Linked DNA regions of Homo sapiens: regions 1 and 3 are each linked to region 2. The links are contacts of gene promoters, found by promoter capture Hi-C in blood cells and fetal thymus (Javierre and others, 2016). All regions are on one chromosome and are shown on one strand. Each heading gives the region's core, a stretch centred on a gene start or on the middle of the fragment in contact. The rest is flanking DNA. Distances are from core to core; before and after follow the strand shown. Region 1 overlaps CWC22 (CWC22 spliceosome associated protein). Region 2 holds the start of DNAJC10 (DnaJ heat shock protein family (Hsp40) member C10). Region 3 has its middle 7.4 kb from the start of CWC22.

Region 1 (2,924 bases), core at 386-2,885, 2.7 Mb after region 2:
AAAACAGGAGCTTTGGAAGGAGTCATGCAATTTGGTTTCAACAGAGTCATCTTGTTGAGGCAAATGGTCCTAAAATCCAGCTGAGATAAGGGTTATCCCTACAGGGCTCTCATCCTCAGGTGAGGGAGGGGGTAGCCTCTGTTTTAAATATTTTTTAAAATTCTATTTTAATTTGTAGCCTTTTAAGCTACATTTTGTACTTTTTTTTTTTAGTCATTACTCTAAGGAACAGTATATATATATCCTTAACTTTTCATGTGCTACTTAGAGTCCATATTGTATCACCTTACGAAAGATGTAGAAAACCTTGCATAGTGTAGATCCATTTTGGTCGCTAGTTCTATATACTATACATATATATACTCTGGCTACATATATTATAACCCCTCAAGACATAATTTTTGCTGTAAAGAGTCATATGTATTTTAGATAAATTAAAATAAAACAGTATCTTGTATTTCCTGAGAAAGTTATCATTTACAGTATTCTTCATTTCTTTCTGAAAAACAGTTTCCATCTAGCATCATTTCCCTTTAGCTTGAAGAACTTATTTTAGCATTTTTTGTAGTGCAGGTCTGCTGGTGATAAATTCTCTTAGTTTCTTTCTCTTAGTTGTTGTTTTTTGTTTAATCAGTAAATGTCTTCATTTTGTCTTCCTTTAAAGATTGTTTTTGCTGGAATTCTACGTTAACTTTTTTTTTTATCTTTTAACACTTTTAAAAATTGTTTCACTATTTTCAAGTCTCTCTAGTTTCTTTTTCAAAAATTTTGATATAAAATATATAGAGATGTAATTTACCATCTTTACCGTGTTTAAGTGTACAGTTCAGTGGTAATAAATACATTTATACTCCTTTTTTTTCCTTCATCCTCCACACCCCACTCCCCTTTCTGGCCTCTGATAACCGCCAGTCTGCTTTATCTTCATGAGATCCACTTTTTTAGCTTCTGCATGTAAATGAGAACATGGTCTATTTAGTTTCTGATGAGAAGTCAACAGTAATTTGAATTGTTATTTCCTTGTATATAATATGTTGTTTTTTTCTTTTCTGCTTTCAGGATTTTTCTCTTTATCTTTGGCTTTAACTATTAACCATTCTACTGTTAAGCGTATTCAGTGAATTTTTTATTTCATATATTTTTCAGTTTTAGAATTTCTGTTTGGTTCTATTTTATCGTTTCTCTTGGCTGAAATTTCCCAGGCATATTTTTCTTTGCATCGTTCCATATGTTTTAAAAACCATGCTTTAAAAACCTTATATACTAATTCCAGGATCTGGATCATCTCAGCATTGATCTGTTTTGATTGTCTTTTTCCTTAAGATTGGGCCACATTTTTTAAATGTTATTTTTAATTGTCTCCTGGATATTATTTTTATGTTATAGAGATTTTGGTTTCCTTACATTCCTCTAAGGAGTGGTGACTTTTTAGGCAGTTAACTTGGTTGGACTTAAATTGCAAACTCTAGTCTCTTGAGCAGCAGTTCAAATCTTAGTTCAGTTCTTGGCAGGAATCTGTCTTGTACATGTGTTGGTTCAGAGGTAGTCAGAGATGTGGGAACAATTTATACCCAGCATATGGGGTTCCCCTCCACTGACTCTCTCCCCTCCTGGATTCCCCCTCAGTTTCCAGCAGTTGTGGTTGCCTCAGACTCTGTCCTCTTGTTCTTCAAATGAGAATGGCTGCAGCTTTTCATCAGTTTTAGCCACCCTTGCGTGGTACAGACTGCAGCTTGCCCTCAGACTAAAGCTATATTAAATGGGATAACTCACTCATGTTGCTCCTTTCTCAAGGCATCTACTCTCCTCTAGACTCAGCCTGCTTTTGTTCATTCTCCAGTGCCTTCAGGTGGTTGTTGTATATTTTGTCAAGAGTTTATGGTTGTTACCTGTGAAAGGATTAGGTTCAGTAGGAACTTCCTAGCCATTTCAGAAGTGGAAGTTCAGTTACCGTTTTAAAAAATTTGTTCAGAAGTGCTACATAAACTACCCAGTGGCCCTGGGAATCAAAACACCCTTATTATTTAAGTTCTTAGAGGAAAACAGTGTAATTCTCTCTAGTCTCGAACCTCTCTTTCGCCTTTGAAACATGTTTTTTATTTGACTTTTGATAACATAGGCTTATTAAGATGGTAACTCTTGCATGATATCAGAATAGACTGTTTAAGGTAGAGGGGCATGCCTCTCCTCTCTGCTACCATCACAGAGTCTGATTTTATGAAGTGTTTTACGTAACTTATTCTGGATTTTCTCAATTATTTATCTAAGGTATAGCATCGAGTAGGAAAAGTTACTCTGAAACTAAGTTCAAACAATGATGTCATAGTTGTGGGCATAATAAGGTCCTAGATAGACTAGTCTGTGGGCATCAGGATTTAGGACCCAGAGTAATCTTTTTTTGTTTGTTTGTTTGTTTGAGACGAAGTCTCACTCTGTTGCCCAGGCTGGAGTGCAGTGGCACGATCTCAGCTCACTGCAAGCTCCGCCTCCCAGGTTCACGCCATTCTCCCACCTCAGCCTCCGGAGTAGCTGGGACTACAGGCGCCCGCCACCACGCCTGGCTAATTTTTTGTAATTTTTCAGTAGAGACGGGGTTTCACTGTGTTTGCCAGGATGGTGTCAATCTCCTGACCTTGTGATCCACCCACCTCGGCCTCCCAAAGTGCTGATAAACTTTAAAAAGATACATAAAGAAAAGATTGGGGGACAACTTGCCAGCTGAAAACAAGGCTGAGCTTTCTAAACAACTGCAATAATAACTAATTGAAGAAAGAGCCTGTTAATAAGCGTATTATGTAAAGTTACACACATTTGTCTCTTTAACTGTAAGCCTCGTACATAAGCAGTGATGTGCTTTAGATTGTAGTTATATTTTATAGATTGATAAGTTTGCCTTTACTAACCTTGACACCATGCCAATCATT
Region 2 (3,031 bases), core at 171-2,670:
ACGAGCATCAGAACACAAAGGTGGCAATGAGCTACAGGTGCTTCCTCTTTCTACCCAGTTATAGCGTTGCCTGTAATACCTCTTCCTTTTAGCTACTTCTTTACCTCCTAAAGCTGTCTAATTTTCATTTTCAGCAGAATTCACTTGTAGGAAATGTCCTTGGGAGGGACTAGAAGGAAACATAGGGTTTTTTACTTCTCATATAACCCTACCAGAAATGACAGTGAAATATATTGTTATAATAGACAATCTACACAGCAGTCGATCTTCTTCCCGGAGTTTCCTCAGAAGGTGCTTATACTGAATTTAAGTAGAGGCCATTTTTTAAAAATAGTAGAAAAACAATTGTAAGTTACCAGTGTAATTTTATTGCAAAGTTCATGTTTGGTGTAAGTAGAAACAAAACACAAAAAGAGAAGGGAATCGGTTATTTAGACATACTCTCTGCAGGGCAAAAACAATCATTACTTCATCATATCACATTTCAACCACTATATTTTAGTTCCAAAGAGATCGTAATGCTTTGAAAAATCTAACGCTCCTCGCACCTCATTTCTGTTTTTCATTTAATCCTAAATGTATATTTAAAAATTTTTCTCTTTACCTGTGAATGGTCTTCAGCTCATTTCTAATACTTCCTTTTCATTCCACAAAAATATACCTTTGAAAAATATAATGATGTAGAGATTAACAAGTATCCAAACAAGAAAACAACCATCAGAAAAAGAGAGGGCATAGTCTCAATCAACACTTTGGGATAAGATGTTTCTCGCCCAGGGGTTGTTCTCAGCGTGGGTGTGGCCGAACTGCCCGTGGCCCGAGCTACCGGGCAGGTGGAAGCGCCAGGTAAATGCAAGGCGCAAGCTTTCGCATTGCCATCACTGCAGAGTGGGAGAGGGGAGAGGGGTAAAGATGAAGACACGGGGGAACAGGGCTGTTAAGTGTTGCTGGTGTCTGAAGTCTCAGGTCGGACTTAGGGAGAAAGTGTAAGTAACTGAGAGGGAATCGCTGGGCAGAGGAAGGGTGGTGTGAATAACAGGGAGGAGGAAGGTGGGGAGCGAGAACACAATATCCAGGTCTTAAGAGCGCACAGGAAGGGAGGTTCAGGCGCTCAGCCATTCCGCCCCTCCCTGACCGGAGGGCCCAGGCCACCACCGGCTCCAGCAAAGCCCTAGCCCCGGGCCCATGCCCACCTTGCCATCGCGGGGTCGCTTCCTGTAGCTACTCCCCCATCCTCAAACCCTGGCGGCGGACCCCGCCTGGCCGAGCCCAAGCACCGCGTGCAGGAGAGAAGCACACGCACTCTCCGACGGCCCAGCCGCGGCGCACGGGATTGGTGAGGTGCAGCCACACCGGCGACTACCAGCGCGCGGCCGGTACCGGTAGGTTCCTCACGCGCCGGTCTCCACGGCGAGCCGGGGCGGGGCCTGGCGCGGAGCATTGTGGGAAAGGCGTGGAGGACGCTGCCTGGGGAGACCCGCTGCGGGCCCAGCGGGCGCTGCGGCGGTGGGGTGGAGAGGGCGGTGTAGGTTTAGGTTGACGTGGCGGTGTGCGCGGGATCCGGCTCCGGCTCCGGCTCCAACCCGGAGCTGAGGGAACTGCCCTGGCCAAGCAGCCCGCGCCCCCTCACCAATGCGGCCGGCGCCTGCCGCGGGCGGGGAGGGTGGATGGCGAAGCCCGCCTCTTCCTGCTTCCGTTGCCAGGGTGACGGGGAAACCCAGAGGGTGGGTTTTGGGGTTGAGTTCCCTGAGAGTCTTTTAAAGGGAAGACGGAGCTTTGGAGGATTTGTCTGGGTGATGGGTGGGTGAGACCGAAAGGCGAAATTTGGCGGAGAAAGGAGAAGTTGCCTGAAGCGACACTGATTGCAGTATCAGGCTAGCGGACTGAAGAGGCAGTAGGAAACTTGAAGGAAATTAAAACATTTACAATTTTGTGTAAGCGTGTGTATCAACAAGCATTTGAGACTTCTACAATATTTTCTGGATTCTGAGTCATACAAGCTAGAAACTGGGGAGTTATCGTTGTTCTCTCTTACCTTGATCTCCTACTGCTATGGTACAGGAACTGCATTTTGTCCCACAGCAATATAACAATTGAAGTGGTTATATTTACTACATTTTCTATATTTAAAAGAGAAAACCGAGCCTAGAGGATACCTGCTTATAACATCAACCCTAACATGAAATAAGTTGTGATTGGTAACAGTTTCGGGGAGTAAATCAAGTGTCAGCTTCTAAAAACTTGGAAAACTACACAGGATCTATGGCTAAGCTAATACTTGGTAGGAAAGAAGAGGAAGTAGAATGAACAAAGGCAAACATTAGAAGCAGCCTGATGTAATAGTAGTTAATATGTCTCAGGAACTGGTCTAAGCACACATGTAGTAACTCATTTAGTCCTCCAAATAATCTTACAAGATAGTGGCTCCTATATCTATTTCCCATTTGAGGAAACTGAGGCAAATATTTGAGAGCTAGGATTCACATCTAAGCAACCTGGCTTCAGAGACTATGATGTTAAGCATTATGACACAGTGTGTAACCATTTTGTTACACACTGTAACAAAATCTTAAAGTAAATTGAAAAACAAACAGAAAACTGGAAGATGAAGCAGGGACCAGATCACAGACAGGTTTTTATACCAAGATGAAGACATAGATTTCTATCTCTTAGGTGATGAGGAAGCTTTTAAAAAAGAGACTGAGATTGTATTTTAGATCATCCTGGCAGCTATTGGAGAGAGGATGCAAAGCATACAAAACTGGAGAAAGAACAGGAGAATGTTAGACAAATAGGGTAAATGCTTTAAGAGGTGGTGGGCCGGGTGTGGTGGCTCACGCTTGTAATCGCAGAACTTTGAGGGGCTGAGGCGGGTGGATCACTTGAGGTCAAGAGGTCGAGACCAGCCTGGCCAACGTGGTGAAATCCCATCTCTACTAAAAATACAAAAATAAGCCGGGCATGGTGGCACACCCCTATAATCCCAGCTACTCGGGAGTCAAGAGAATCGCTTGAACCCGGGAGACAGAGG
Region 3 (3,076 bases), core at 190-2,689, 2.7 Mb after region 2:
CACTGGGTTGTGCAAACGGGAGGAAAAGAAATCTATTAACCCATTTCCCTAAATCCAATGGACTGTAAGATTTAACAGCACACTTTCTCCCTTACCCTACTTCCTTCCCCTACAAAATGGCAGCAGCTGCCTCTCCTGGCATGGGGGCAACCTTAACTGACCTTATACATTTCCAAACACCCCCTTGAGGGTAAGTACTGCCCTCCCCACTGAACAGCAACAACAAAAACTCTAACTGATGCTGAGGTATTTCAGTAAAGCTTCTAGCGTGTCCAATCCATCCTTTCCCGCCTCCTCTCCAAAGTAGCATCTGAACTTTACAGGAAAAGGGATTAGTGAGACTTCTTTGATGAGTTCAATGTCCCTGGGTGCCTTGGTCTCCAAGGAAATGGTCGTTATTCAGCTTACTGACCTTCCCAGTAACGACAACAGCTGGTGTCATTTATGAGCTGGTCTCCACATATAAAGTCAACTCTTGTTCGTATATACTTAAATGAGAATTATTTTCAAATGTAACACTCCAAATACAGTCTTATTGCAAAATTGATTTGTCCAATTATACCCTGGTAAAAATGAAGACATATTCTTATTTATCCTATGCAAAAATTATATTGCTATGAAAAAGTAAAGAGACTTGTAAAAATAATTTTCTCAATTCTTATATGTCAGTGAAAATCAAACCCCAAAACACCAAGAGTCTACTTAATTGAGGATTTAAGATAGCTTCAGAAGAAAAAGAATCTGTTATGTATCTATGAAAAGATAGACCATAAAATTAATGCCAAAAATATTCTGAATAAACCACATTAAAATTTCCCTCATTAGCTTAAGTATGCTGTAATTAATTCTTAGTCCACTGGGCCTTGGATCAAGCAGTTGGATTTGATAAAGCATAACTGCTTCTGAACAGAAAGGGGTTCTGGAAATCCTGACTTTGTCCACTAGTACAGCCTGAAAGTTTTCTAAGCAATCTTATCTTGGAAGATTATACTCAAGACTATTCTTTGAAATATCCATAGTTCAGAGTACCTAGCACAGTCTTTTCTGCAGCGCTCTGAGATTATATTCTCTGGAGAAACAAAGCCTAGCCTGTTGTTTTAGGCAAGCTTCAGAGGGAAACAGAAATCTGCTTGAGAATTAGGCTGAATAGCTGTGATCGATTTATTATAATACCAATACTATCAGAATGAGTCAGAATAAAATTTTCCATTAGCATTTCATAAGTGTTTAATCAACACTTCCTATAAAGTGAGAACTTAATATAAACAGTGAGGGCAGTGATAACTCTCCAGAGTCTTCCCTTAAAATCTAAAATCTCTGAAATGTTTATATTAACTGAACCTAGGGGAGGCTGAGTATCTCTTCTGATTTGACAGTTCTTCCCATGCAACTCTTATAATAGTGTTGAGCTAGTTTAAAAATATGGAGCATACCAAACATATCTAATTACTTCTAGCATCTCCCTATGCTAATACCTATTGTGGCAGGCATAGAAATGCACCCTTCCGATGTTCAGACTTGTGGCCTCCAGCTGTTAACTCCTTCAGATCTGCCTCAGGGCCCGGGTCATACTCTTCTTGGGGTCACCCCAGCCAAAGATCAAGCAAGAATGTGGTATAATGATGTGTTAGTCTGTTTTATATCACTATGAAGGAATACCTGAAACCGGATAATTTATAAAGAAAAGAAGTTTATTTGGCTCACAGTTCTGCAGGCTGTATAAGCAGGGGACGGGCATCTTCTTGACTTCTTGTGAGGCCTCAGGAAGCTTTTACTCATGGCAGAAAGCAAAGGGAGAGCAGGCGGGTTACATGGCAAGAGAGAGAGCAAAAGAGAGCAGGAGGGGGCACACTCCTTTTTTTTTTGTTTTGTTTTTTAAACAACCAGCTGTCACATGAACTAACAGAGCAAGAACTCACTCATTTCTGTGGGGAGGGCACTAAGGCATTCATTTGGGATCTGCTGCCATAACCCAAACACCTCCCATCAGGCCCCACCTCCAACCTTGGTCGGGGAAGGGGGACCACATTTAAACCTGACATTTGGAGGGGACAAACATCCAAACTATATTAAATGGCCTAAAATTTCACCCAATGTAAGACTCTTCTAACAGGCAATCCTTACTCTGGACCTCTCTGTTGGGCTTTCAAAGACCTGTCAGATTTCATCATGATCTGCTGAGTTTTTCTGCTCAATCTTGCTTTCTGTCTTTTCCTTTCACAGGTATTACTTTCTAATACACTTTTGACACCCCTGTTTCTATCTCAGTATCTGCTTCTTAGAGGATCCAATTGATACAGTGATTCCAGGAATGATTCAAAAAAAAAAAAACAAGTGGTAAGTTGAGACTTTGACACTGGACCCCTCATTATCTGAATGACAAACAAGAGCCCACTGCAGGTGGCATATGGGGCACAGTTAGTCCCTGGCACAATATAGTAGCCCAGCTGCTAAAATACTTCACTGGTAAATAGTACTGGAACATAATACCAGATAAATAAGAATTTATTGACATTGGGGCACTCTCTTGGGATATAAGATTAAACTCGCTGGAAAGGATCTGAGGAGGTAGAGCAAATTTGCTGCTAGGGTACCTCTAGACACCTGGAGAAAGTGATGGCCCATGCTGAGGAAAACTGAAATGCCTAAATTGTCATTGCGGACAATGGAGGAAGGCAGTAAGAGGACCAGGAAAGCGGATATGCTGGAGTGGATGTGAGATCAGAAAGCCTACTAGAAAAAATTATTTTCCACAGGAGGCCATGAGGACACATCATTCCCCAAGGTCATCAGGAATTTGCTAGTAAGCGGGGCACCAACATCACCAAGACATCCAGCACTGGCTCTTCTCAACAGGTCAGTGCTGACTGTAGGAGAGGCTGTCATAGAACTTGGCTCCTTAGTAACAATGAGGATCATGGAGCCCAAGAGCAAGAGAGGTTGAAGTAAAACTTAATCCTCAATGCTGGGGGTGGGGTGGGTCACAATTATCATTGTGCCCAACAATGTCAGAGCAGCAGCTAAGAGAGAATTGTGAAGACAGTTAATAAAACATAGTGTCACTAGGAGCAAAATA

Evidence for each region. The method cuts DNA at HindIII sites, captures the fragments that hold promoters and counts their contacts. A CHiCAGO score of 5 or more calls a contact.
Region 1: a fragment that was not itself captured here is called in contact with the fragment with the promoter of DNAJC10 in region 2 in 1 of 17 cell types (naive B cells); the score reaches 5.2 in naive B cells.
Region 3: a contact is called between a fragment that was not itself captured here and the fragment with the promoter of DNAJC10 in region 2, in 1 of 17 cell types (non-activated CD4 T cells). The highest score is 8.2, in non-activated CD4 T cells.

What each region holds. Positions count from the first base shown.
Region 1 is chr2:179,994,610-179,997,533 of GRCh38, reverse strand. The region is part of intron 1 of CWC22 (CWC22 spliceosome associated protein); the gene reads left to right. Among named protein-coding and RNA genes, the nearest start is that of CWC22, 11 kb to the left of the region's middle. The HindIII fragment of the contact is 3,802 bases long and covers 1-2,924 here.
Region 2 is chr2:182,714,646-182,717,676 of GRCh38, reverse strand. DNAJC10 (DnaJ heat shock protein family (Hsp40) member C10) reads right to left here and starts at 1,420. Exons shown (of 24, transcript NM_018981.4): 1 at 1,194-1,420; 2 at 605-661. It also overlaps a transcript of PDE1A not described here. RefSeq lists a silencer at 1,028-1,187 and enhancers at 749-1,353, 1,698-1,767, 1,788-1,937. The HindIII fragment of the contact is 1,821 bases long and covers 867-2,687 here.
Region 3 is chr2:180,013,124-180,016,199 of GRCh38, reverse strand. No RefSeq gene overlaps it. Among named protein-coding and RNA genes, the nearest start is that of CWC22, 7.4 kb to the right of the region's middle. The HindIII fragment of the contact is 662 bases long and covers 1,109-1,770 here.